Regions from separate parts of the Homo sapiens genome. Here all the other regions are linked to region 2. Evidence: promoter capture Hi-C in human tissues and cell types (Jung and others, 2019). All regions are on one chromosome and are shown on one strand. The core of a region is centred on a gene start or on the middle of the fragment in contact, and the rest is flanking DNA. Distances in the headings are between cores, read along the strand shown. Region 1 overlaps NAV2 (neuron navigator 2). Region 2 holds the start of E2F8 (E2F transcription factor 8). Region 3 overlaps NAV2 (neuron navigator 2). Region 4 overlaps NAV2 (neuron navigator 2).

Region 1 (2,700 bases), core at 149-2,648, 560 kb before region 2:
TTTCAAATGGACTAAAAAAGACTGTCTCTTGTTGATGATTCATTCAGCACTTAGATACCTTGCAAGACTTGGGGTTGGGAACTGTAATTGCCACTGCACTGAGGTATGTGAGAGGGATAGCTTACAAAGAGTACTGATTAAAATAATCCTAAATAACTAGACATACGTTTGGTGACGTTGTAATTGAAAATGAATAATTTTGTCCATATTCCCTTCTTCAATGGAGACTTATAAAACGAGTATGAACATTATCTATTTTTAACCAGATGACCCTACAAATCTGCAGAGACCTGAAGGACACACACACATACACACACACCTGCTCTCTTTAGTGCATGAGGTCTGGCTCTTCTCACTGACCTAATGAGTAGACCTGGATTCAGAAAGTAAGTAGTAAAAGTCATTAAGCAAATTGGCCACAGATCACCTTATACCATATCACTTTTGTCTCACCTTTAATCCTAGCCACACCCCTTTCAAGCTCTACCCTACCCTTGCCAATTGTTCCTAGACAAGGGCCATGTTTGTTTGACCACTTTCCAATTCGATAAGCCACAGATGGGGCGAGGCAGAGGAAACACACGTCAAACAAGTCAGATTGCTATTACTTTTAACTTGCCTTTTTCAAGCTCTCAGGTAGAAGAACTGGTTCTGCTGCATGCAGAATTTTTCCATTGCAAAAGCAGGGAGAAGAATGAGGGGCTTCCCTGGACTATACATTATCCTCTACCATTGGGGGAATCCCCCAAGTGCTCATTTAACAGTTTCCTCTCACAAGCATCTTCCCTGCCCCAGGGCATTCTGCTCTATCTCAATTAATTATATGCAGCATCTCAATGAAGCCTCACAATATCCTTTGAGGCAGGGATGACTAATTCCATTTTGCAGATGAAGACACTGACACTCTACAGAGGTAAGTAACTTGCCTAAGCCACAGACAGGATTTGAACACATATCTGAAGCTCTGCTCCCACCATTTCAGTGGGAAAGTGGAAGGATGTAGCATTTCATGCTGCCAAATGCTTTCTTGGCCCCCAAGGTAACCTCTGCAGTGTGAGGCGTTCTCTGCTAAAGGGCATTAAAGGGTGAGCAGATACTCACCAGAGGGAGTATCTCCCTGCCTGCATTTTCAAGACAAAGCTGATGCGCTCTGTGTGATCAGAGACTCCACCTGAGTTCAACAGATAAACTGGTGATTCTGTTGTTTAGTTTTGATATACAGCACCAGCACAACCTGCCCACCTGGGAATATTTTGGTGCCAAGAATGAACAGAAGGGAATACATCGCAGAAATATTAACCTTGGCAGCCTCCTCCCACAGCAAACCACTGGTTGAACTTTAATGAAATTTTGCACAAGAGCAGAAACATCTGTATTGCTGGTAAAAATAAACCCCAGCCTGGAACACACAACCGTCTCTGTGCAAGAACATGACAAACCTGGAAAGGAATGGAAAGGAGGCCTCTGTGATCAAAATGGCTGTTTATAACAGAGAGGAAGCAGCTGCTCCCCTCTGTCTGTTTTTCCTAGTTAGGGTTAATGGCTTCTTAGGAAAGAAAATACATTCTAAATTTGTGCATCTGAGGCTTTCCTAGAAGGCTGATTTGTGTGGGAGAGCAGAGGTCCTGCAAATTGCCTGTCCCCATCGACTCTCTCATCCCCACAAAACCATTCTCCAGGATGAAAAAACATTGGTGTAATTTTTTTTTTTTTTTTTTTGAGAGACAGGGTCTCACTCTGTCACCCAGGCTGGAGTATGGTGGCATGAGCATAGCTCACTGCAGCCTCAAACTCCTGGCCTTAAGTGATTCTCCTGCCTTGGTGATGTACTATTCTTAACCAATACTGGCACTATAAGGCCTAATTGCTTTAAGTATCTAGAAATAATAACTCATCCAAAACCAAAATTAAGAGCATGGACATTAACTTATTTAAAAGATGCAAGAACAAGAGGCCAGTTCACAGATCACAGGTGGCTGGGGAGGCCTCAGCAATCACATAAAGTTGCTATACAGTGTGGCGTATTCCTCTAGGTAGTCTTTCTTTAGAAAAAAGAGCACAGGCGCTCCTGGAACCCAGAATCAGAGAATTCTGGGAATGGAAGAGGCCAGCCAAGCCCTCTAGCCCAATCCCACCCCTCCTTGATGCATGAATCCCTTGCACAAGCTCCATGCCAAGTTTCCCTAAACTGCCAGGGGTAAAGACCTTCTGACCTCCTATAAGAGCCATTTGACACTAATCTCAGAAAACTCTTCCTCCCACTGAATTGAATTTTGGTCCCAGTTTGGTGAAGACCCCCAGTGATTAATCCTTCTAGCCCTTCGGAGATAAAAGGTGGCATAGTGTCTCTTTCACGAGTCATAATATCATAAAAGAGTTTCAAATTCCTATAAATACTCTTCATAGAACAAAGCTTTGGTTCTCTCACCACCCTGGCTATTCTCCTCCGGACAAGGGTGATGATGGATAAGGTCAGCAATGATAATTATTAAAATAAAAGCAATGATTTTAGCTCTTATTAAGCACACACTATGTGGCATACACCGTACTACATGCTTTATATGCACTTATCACTGAATCCTCACAACAACCCTGGGAGTTCAAGACTATTGTCCTCTTAATTTCACATTTTGAAAAAATAGGAGCTCACAGGTGACGTAACTTGCCCAAGGTTACAGAGCTAGTAAGTGATAGTGCCGG
Region 2 (2,788 bases), core at 41-2,540:
GAGAAAGGGAGGAGTGGGTGGGAGACCCTGAGGAAAGACGGCGAGGACAGGGTTGGAGGGTTTTCCGCCTTCCTCCTCTTCCTCCTACACCTGAGTTCTCACCGCTGGGCCAAGGCCCAGAGCCCACGGAGCTTAGGCACCAGTAGCCAAGCTTCTCCCTCCTCGCGCCAGTTTCTGCGAGGCACGGGGCAGACGGTGGGCAGCACAATCATGCATGCCAGGGGTGCAAGGGGGAGAGGTCCGGCTGGAGTCCGAGGGCAGGTGAGCCGGCCTGGGGCTGGGCAGGGGTGAGATAGCCCCAAGCGGGGAATCGCAGGGCGCCTGCGGCCCAGCCCGCGAGCCCCGGACGGGCCAAATTTTATTCCCCAACTTTGAGCAAGGGGAGGGGGTGTATGCAAAAAAAAAAAAAAAGGAAAAAAAAGTTGCTGAACTTTTCCCCCAACTCTGCCGTAGAGGCGGGAGTGGAGGGCGGTGCCTGCACCGATTCGCCGGCGGCTACGGTCGGGAGGCTCGGATTGGCGCTCGGGGGCCGGGGCCGGGGCGAGCGGGCGTGGGGGAGGGGAGCGGCCCTCCCCGCCCGCGGTATCGGCTCGCGCCGGGAGCGGGTTAATTTCAAATCGGGGGCTTGGCTGCTCCTGGACGGTCACGCTCCCTCTGCCCGCCAGCCGGCCCGCCAGTCCCGGTCCCGGCGTCTCTCTCCGGCACCCACCTCGGCGCTGCGGAAAGACTGACTGCCAGGTACGCGGGCTCCCGGGCCTGAGAGGGGCAGCGGTGCTGACGAGTCCCGGCTCAGCCCCCGCCGGCTCCCGCCGTGAGGTGGACTGACAGGTCAGCGGGACGCAGAGGGGCGCGGCGCCCGGGCGACACGGCACCGGGAGAGGGCTCGGGAGGGTGGCGGCGGCGGCGGCGGCGGCCGTTTCCCGCCTCCCGCTTCGCCGGGGGCCGTGAGGGAGGAGCTGAGCTCCCGCGCAGAGGGGCGGGGGCGAACGAGGGGGAGGGGCGGGGTTGCCGTGGTTCCGGGCGCGGGTTTGCCCGCGCTCAGGCCCCGCGCAGCTAAGGGGAGGCGCCGGCCACGGTCCGACTTTCCGCGCCAAATTTTTAAATCGAAGGCGGAAGGTCCGGCCCCGCCCCTGGCGCCGTCGGCCAATCGCAGGCCCGCTTCCGGCCCTCTGATTGGTCGGGAATTGTTGTCCTGGAAACCACGATGATGCTGTCCGGGAACTGTCGGGACTGCGGCGGGCGGACAGGGCCTGGGGGAGGGGCCTTTGGCCGAAAGTTGGGGGAAGTGCACTGAGCGAGTGGCGGCCGGGGGACAGTACCTGCTTGCCTTATTGGGCAAATACAGCCTTCCAAGGTGGAGTCTAACGCCGTGGTGTGAACTGGCCACCCGAACAGGGAGTAAATAGTGCTTTGTATCTTTAAGGAAGCCCTTTTTTAAATTTAAAAAAAAAGTCTTAATTATAAGACTCTTTAAATGCCCAACTGCATACTTGGAGCTTTGGGACTGAATTTGGAACTTTCCTGTCAAGCGACCTCCCACGACTTTACTGCTGAGCCTGTGCACGTGTGTGTAAGGGGAGAAATCCAGGCATCTAGATGCAGACTTGTACCCAGTTACTTGGGGTCGCGTGCGCTCAGCTGGGACCTGGGCTCGTGCGCTTAGTCCGGAGCCCTGATCTGCGAACAGGTGGGTGCTTCCTAAAGTATTCGCTGGGGTCCGGAGAATGGCTCGCCTTTTCTACAGATGGGAGAGGGCTGTCACTAGAAATTCCGTGGGTTGCTTGAAGTCTTAGGACCGCCGATCCGTTTGCTGAAGGAATTTACTGGCATTTGTTGGCGTTCTCCGCTCAGTGGGGCGATCTCTGGTCGAGAATAAAATGTAAATCTAGTTTGTCATTTTTCGTTAGGCTTTGTTTCCGTAGCCTCTTGTCCGTGAAGGAATTTTCAACAGATCTTTTGGTTCTTGTTTTTCTCTAACTTTTTCTATTTCCTTTTTTCTTTAAGGATATTAAAACTTTTAGTACAATTGATTGGACTACTTGAACCATCGGGATTTGGGGAGGAACTCCAGATTTTTCATTTTTAAACTCTAAATGTATGAGGAATTTACAGAATGGAGAACGAAAAGGTACTTTATAACTTCAGTATTCATCATTGCAATTTTAAATTCAGTATCATCCTGATTTAACTCCATAATTTTTCCCTATCCAATGTGTTTTCTTAATGCCACAACCTTGGTTAGCCTCTGTAAAGACCTGGAAAAAATGAACCTTATCTTATAGTTTCAAAAATATATAGTTTAAAATATATACTAATTTAATTAATATAGTTTAAAAAATGAAAATTATCTTAAAAAGAAATTCAGTCTCCAATCATGTCAAATGCCCTTTCTGAATTCCAGTTGTTCAAGAATCCTCAGAAATGTTGTAATGAAACTAACAAATTTTATTATTCTTAAAAATACCTTTTCTCTCTTTATGTCTGAGACAGCTACCAAATCATTAAAAACTAGAAAGAGTGTAAAGGGGCAAACCTACCCCTCTTCAAAAATTCGTTAGTTTCATTACAACATTTCTGAGGATTCTTGAACAACTTGGAATTCAGAAAGGGCATTTGACATGTTTGGAGACTGAATTTCTTTTTAAGATAATTTTTTACCAAATTGGCAGCTTATTTATGGGGTCTGCAAAATGCTCTGTTTAGGGGGCAAACATTTTGTAAAATTACAAAAGAATTGTCTGTGGGGGGTGTCCAACTACTAATAGGTTTAAAAAAGTGAACTTACATG
Region 3 (2,700 bases), core at 51-2,550, 540 kb before region 2:
TCATGTCACTTTTGCAATAAAGCCCCTCTTTTTTTTTTTTTTTTTTTTTTTTTTTTAAGATGGAGCTTTGATCTTGTTGCCCAGGCTGGAGTGCAATGGTGCCATCTTGGCTCACCGCAACCTCCACCTCCCGGGTTCAAGCGATTCTCCTGCCTCAGCCTCCTGAGTAGCTGGGATTACAGGCATGTGCCACCATGCCCAGCTAATTTTGTATTTTTAGTAGAGACGAGGTTTCTCCATGTTGGTCAGGCTGGTCTTGAACTCTCAACCTCAGGTGATCTGCCCACCTCAGCCTCCCAAAGTGCTGGGATTACAGGCATAAGCCACTGCGACTGGCCAATAAAGCCCCTCTTAACCATCCTACATTAAAGGTAACCTCCACCATTCCTCCCTATCCTTCTCACCCTGCTATATTTTTCTTAATATAATAGCATTCATCACCATAAAAAGTAACATGTTTTGCTTATTATCTCTTTCTTCCAGTAAAATATAGGTATGAAACTTTTTTGTTGACTCATATATTCCCTAGTTCCTAGAAGATGTTTCATAAATGTGTTGGATGAATTAAGGTAACATCATGATCATTATCATTATAACAATGGCTAACATTTATTGAGCATTTACTATGTGCTTGGATGCTGCTCTGAATACCTGTATCTTACTAAACAACCCTAACAACCTTGAATTTGGAATGATTATCATCATCATCATTTTACAGATGAAGAAACTGGGGCTCAGAGAAATAAAGCAATATTCTCCCCAGGTTGCACAGATCATTGGCAGAGCTAGGAGGGAAGGGGGGTTTGACTATCCCCAGTATCTATGCATGAAGCCACTGTTCAAAGTCTGATAGCAAAGATACCACATCCACCAGCAGCTCAAGGACTTAGAGAATCAGACGAGGGTTCATACTACTGCCTGTCAGGGCTTAAAAGCCCTCCTTTTAAGAAGTCAGGGAGGGCTTCTTAAAAAAAGGGGACTCAATCTGAGCTTCAAAAGGATGGGGTGATAACATGGAGAGATGGAAGAAGCGTGAAATTGGAATATCACCAGGCCAACCATGCTGATTGGAACTAACAGGTTCTATGTGGAAGCTCTGCTGAAGAAGACCTAAAACACTGCTATCATCTAAAAGGCCTTGAATCCCACAAAGGAGTTGGACTTCATCCACCAATGGACTGGATCCCACAAAGGTTGGAACGAGAAATCAGTAGTCTTGAATCCTGAAACTTCACATCGGGAACAATGCTAGAAAAATAGGCAAAGCTATAGCTGTGAAACAAAAGACTCACTCCTGGACCCTCTACAGACATACACACCTTCCTAAGCCCAGTAAACATACTGGAGCTGATAAATCCCATTTAAAGTGCCTTGCTTTCCTATAGATTCATTTGTGCCACAGGACCTATCATGTTCCCAGCAAGCACACAGCTCATCTCTCACTATGACAAAGATAATGTATAATGCAGGTGCTTACCCTTGTCCCACTCCACAGTGTTATAACCAGACATATTATTTCTGGTCACAAGGGCAATCCTCGACTACATCTCAGCCCAGCCAAATATCTCCATCACACCTTCTTGTTACCCTGTTTAAACAATATCTGTCAACTCATTCTAACCCTTCACTCTAACACCCATTCTTAGTGGGAGGTCAGGCTCTTCCACTGCCTTTCCACCTCCCTGGCTATTGCTCTTATATTAGAAACAGCATTTCTGTAACAATCTCTGAATCAAAAAGAACAACCCTTGGGAACAGCACCTGGGTCACCCAGCCCAGATCTCTGGGCTGGCAGCTGGAAAGACAATGGCAGCCTGGTCCATGTGTCCTGGAGAGTCTTAGAGACCCTGAAGAAAAGCTTAGCCACATGCCTTCTGGGTGGCTGGCATTACATTACAGGAGCCAGAAACAAAACAATTTTTTTCCCTGGCTTCACACAAAAACAAAAACAATTGCATAAGTAATGTAAGCACTGCCAGGTCACCAAAGGGACCAATTATAAATCTCTACTTCTCTATTAACACAAAAATGAAGGAAAATGTGTTACCTCAAAATGTCATTAAGAGGAAGTCACTTACTAATTTCAGAGGCTTTCTCTCCTTCCCTCCCAATATTCCTTTCTTTATTTTCCTAGTAATTAACCAAAGTCAAAACCTTCCTCACATGCTTTGGTTTCAATTCAGGAAAGTACATCAAGGCTATGAGGGCTCATTACCCACAGCGGAAATGCATATGGAACTATTCCTGTATATTCCAACCTGCTTTCTCAAGGAAAGAATGGAACTTCTTGCCCTTGAGATTTTGGGGAATTAGTAGAAAATGGACATGACTTCAGTACCTGGGAGATGGTCAAATCTATGCCAGTTACAATTAGTGGAAAGCAGGAGAAAGTCCTAGAAGTCCCTGAGAGTGGAAATGACCGTTGTTTTCTAGCTGAAGGTGGTAATACTTTCATGTGAGTGTTAATGAGCTTTAGTCAGGAAAAAAAACGGAAGTTGTTAAGATGGGAATCAGTCTATACGTGTAAAGAGCTGAAGCAAGCTGATGGATGTGTTAATTAGTTTGATAGTGGGAATCATTTCATAATGTATGCATAGATCAAATCATCACACTGTACACCTTAAATATATACAATTTTTATTTGGCAATTAAGCCTCCATAAAGTTAGGGATTAAAAAAAAAAAAGCTAAAGGAGCATTT
Region 4 (2,700 bases), core at 186-2,685, 650 kb before region 2:
GTAGGAGGGCTGCCCATGTCCCTGGGGCACTTTAGGGAGTGAGGGGGCAGCTTTCCTGGACGTCAGGGAAATAGAGAAACACCACGTAGACAGCCCTAGGAATCTTCTACACCACCAGGTAGGAAATGCTTCCAGGAGACCTGGACATATTTCCTAAAGATGTCTAGACTACTTTGCCTAGAAGGAATGAAGGAAGGCTCTGCCTCTTTTTGAATAATCTTTGAAACTACCTTAGTTTCTCCAATGTCTCAAGAGATAGAGGCTGAAACAAGCAAAGGTTTGTTTTACTACATTCTGGGCAGCACCCCCATGGGACTATTCACTATTTTTCTCCATCCTAAAAACTCAGTACTGTGTATAGTAAAAAAAAAAAAAAAATCCATATCCTTTTATGGCAAAAGTTACATCATCACAACTCCTAGAGCAATGCTGTCCACTCCTTATATGTAGCCAAGATCTTCAATGAGCCAATCCACATTCCTGACTTTTTCAAAGGGTGAAAAACCTCTTGTTCCTAACTCCCCTCACATTATTTCTGACGGATAAAAAAGCTTATCACAGTTCACAAAATGCATGCTCCAAGAAGCTTGCATTTCTGAAAAACTACTTAATATATGGAACATATTCCATGAAAATTTATTTTCAAATTCCAAATGCTATATTGCTTCTATGCATAGCCGGGTGTCTATGGGGCCCCACCCAAACAAAGATAGCAAATTATTTTTGCTAGTGACTATAACAATATTTTCCCCCACTTTATTAATACCTCTGGCTACTAAAGTTCCTGCCTACCAAATATGTCCTTGTAACTCATTCTCAACACAGATGCAACCCCTCCCCATGACCCAACCCAATTCACCCGAAGGAACTAGGTAGATGTGCTCTGAAGGAAAATACCAAAAAGGCTCCTCAAGAAGGTGACTCACCTTTCTCGTGGCTGCTTGGCGGTGGGGGTGGGGAGGTGACTGGTTTGGATTTATCATAGTTGTTAAAGCTCTGGCTGCGTCGGTTGTTAGCAGTAGTTGACCCTCCGCGTGTTTTGGCCTCGCTGCCTGCAGCGGATACCCTCGCGGTAGGACCTGGAAGTCTAAAATGCAAAAGCAACAGGATAATGCATTCAGTCTCAGAAGAATAACAGTGTGTAGGAAGAAGGAACTGCAACCATGCAGGAGGCAAAAGAAACTATCCAAGACATTGTGTGGAGGTTTGCCAGTCACAGAATTTGGTGGAACCATTACAAACATGTAGGCAAGTAATGACCCCAGCAAAGTCCAACAGCAAAATGTGAAGTTTCCCTTTGAGCAGAGAGAAAAATTTTGATGAAGAAATATGTTTGTGGATTAAAAATACAAAGTTCAACATGGCAAAACCCCATCTCTGCTAAAAATGCAAAAATTAGCCAGGCATGGTGGTGGGCACCTATAATCCCAGCTAATTGGGAAGCTGAGACAGGAGAATCAGTTGAACCTGGGAGGCAGAGGTTGCAGTGAGCTAAGATCACGCCATTGCACTCCAGCCTGGGTGACAGAGTGGGACCCTGACTCAAAACAAAACAAAACAAAAACAAAGTTCATTTTTTTTTTCCCTCTGGGATAAGTATTTTTACTTTTGAATAGGGTCAAGCCAGTCATTTCTAATTTTATCAAGCATGGAACATAAAGCCCTCAGAGGATTCTAAACTGATAACCTTGTGTGTGCATCTCTTCTGATAGGTATAAAAACTGTTTGCCATAATCTGGGGTTGTAAGTATCAAGAAAAGGACAATTTATAGTGGTGAGAAGGTGAATTACTACCACTCAGAATCCAACATATTTGCAATGAAAACTTCAGGTTGGTTGGAAACACTTGCCCACACATACATTTCCCTTCAACACCTGATGACCTGTCTCCAAAGGCATTATTTTGAGGCTGAAGTACAACTTATCTGCACAGTAGATGGATAACATCATATATTCTTCCTGTAAAACTGGCAGGAATTTGTTGGCCTAAAGACAAACACACACTCTCCCTTTAAATAAAACACCTCATTTTGGGTGGCTTGGGAAATAAAGTCACCATCCATAATGTGTCTAAAGATATTATGGCCCATTCACCAAAGAGTTAATGGTAAGACTCCTCAAATCAGGATTTTGGTCCAGGGAATTACTAAGCAGGCTGTTTCCAATAATTAAAGTTGAAAGATGAATAAATGATGAAATGTTTAGTTATATCTTTCAGCTTGAAATCCACTTAGCTGTGTTTAAAAGCCACTGGAACCTCAGCTGACTAGCATTAGATCTAGTGACAAGTCTGAATTTTCAAGTCATAAAACTTTCAGCCTTCTCTTTCCATGCAAATCTGTAAGCACCAAAGAAGTCTACAGTCTGGAAGCATTTTAGATATAAGCAGGCAATCACTTTAAACTTTTCTTGTTGGCTGGGCAAGAAAGATGGTTGTAGAGTAAACAGAGAACATGAGCTGGTGTGAGGGGACTGTAAAAATTATATAGTTAAAAAGAAGCTGGCCCAATTCCCTGACTGGGAGCTGGGAGAGAAGGAAGGGGGTTAGCTCTTCCCCCAACAAGTTGCAGTGAGAATTACTTCCCACTGTGCTGCGAGGATTTGTACCTTGGTTAATTTACCTCATCTCCTTTGGAGAGGACATTCACTCCACAAAGACAGGCACAGAACGGAGTACAAAATACTAGCAGTGCCAGTGCC

The links. The method cuts DNA at HindIII sites, captures the fragments that hold promoters and counts their contacts. A contact is called where the count stands out against the background at its distance.
Region 1: a contact is called between a fragment that was not itself captured here and the fragment with the promoter of E2F8 in region 2, in 3 of the 25 tissues and cell types used here (IMR-90 fibroblasts, heart right ventricle and thymus).
Region 3: a fragment that was not itself captured here is called in contact with the fragment with the promoter of E2F8 in region 2 in 1 of the 25 tissues and cell types used here (mesenchymal stem cells).
Region 4: a contact is called between a fragment that was not itself captured here and the fragment with the promoter of E2F8 in region 2, in 1 of the 25 tissues and cell types used here (aorta).

Annotation. Positions count from the first base shown.
Region 1 is chr11:19,801,731-19,804,430 of GRCh38, reverse strand. All of the region lies in intron 1 of NAV2 (neuron navigator 2), which reads right to left. Among named protein-coding and RNA genes, the nearest start is that of MIR4694, 43 kb to the right of the region's middle. The HindIII fragment of the contact is 6,637 bases long and covers 1-2,700 here.
Region 2 is chr11:19,239,447-19,242,234 of GRCh38, reverse strand. E2F8 (E2F transcription factor 8) reads left to right here and starts at 1,290. Exons shown (of 13, transcript NM_024680.4): 1 at 1,290-1,687; 2 at 2,005-2,128. The coding sequence starts at 2,114. The region is part of intron 1 of CSRP3-AS1 (CSRP3 and E2F8 antisense RNA 1); the gene reads right to left. RefSeq lists enhancers at 1-85, 291-400 and a silencer at 521-1,220. The HindIII fragment of the contact is 7,308 bases long and covers 1-2,788 here.
Region 3 is chr11:19,781,745-19,784,444 of GRCh38, reverse strand. All of the region lies in intron 1 of NAV2 (neuron navigator 2), which reads right to left. Among named protein-coding and RNA genes, the nearest start is that of MIR4694, 23 kb to the right of the region's middle. The HindIII fragment of the contact is 7,941 bases long and covers 1-2,700 here.
Region 4 is chr11:19,890,821-19,893,520 of GRCh38, reverse strand. It overlaps NAV2 (neuron navigator 2), which reads right to left. Exons shown (of 38, transcript NM_145117.5): 6 at 927-1,087. Among named protein-coding and RNA genes, the nearest start is that of NAV2-AS3, 89 kb to the left of the region's middle. RefSeq lists an enhancer at 293-1,492. The HindIII fragment of the contact is 3,100 bases long and covers 1-2,700 here.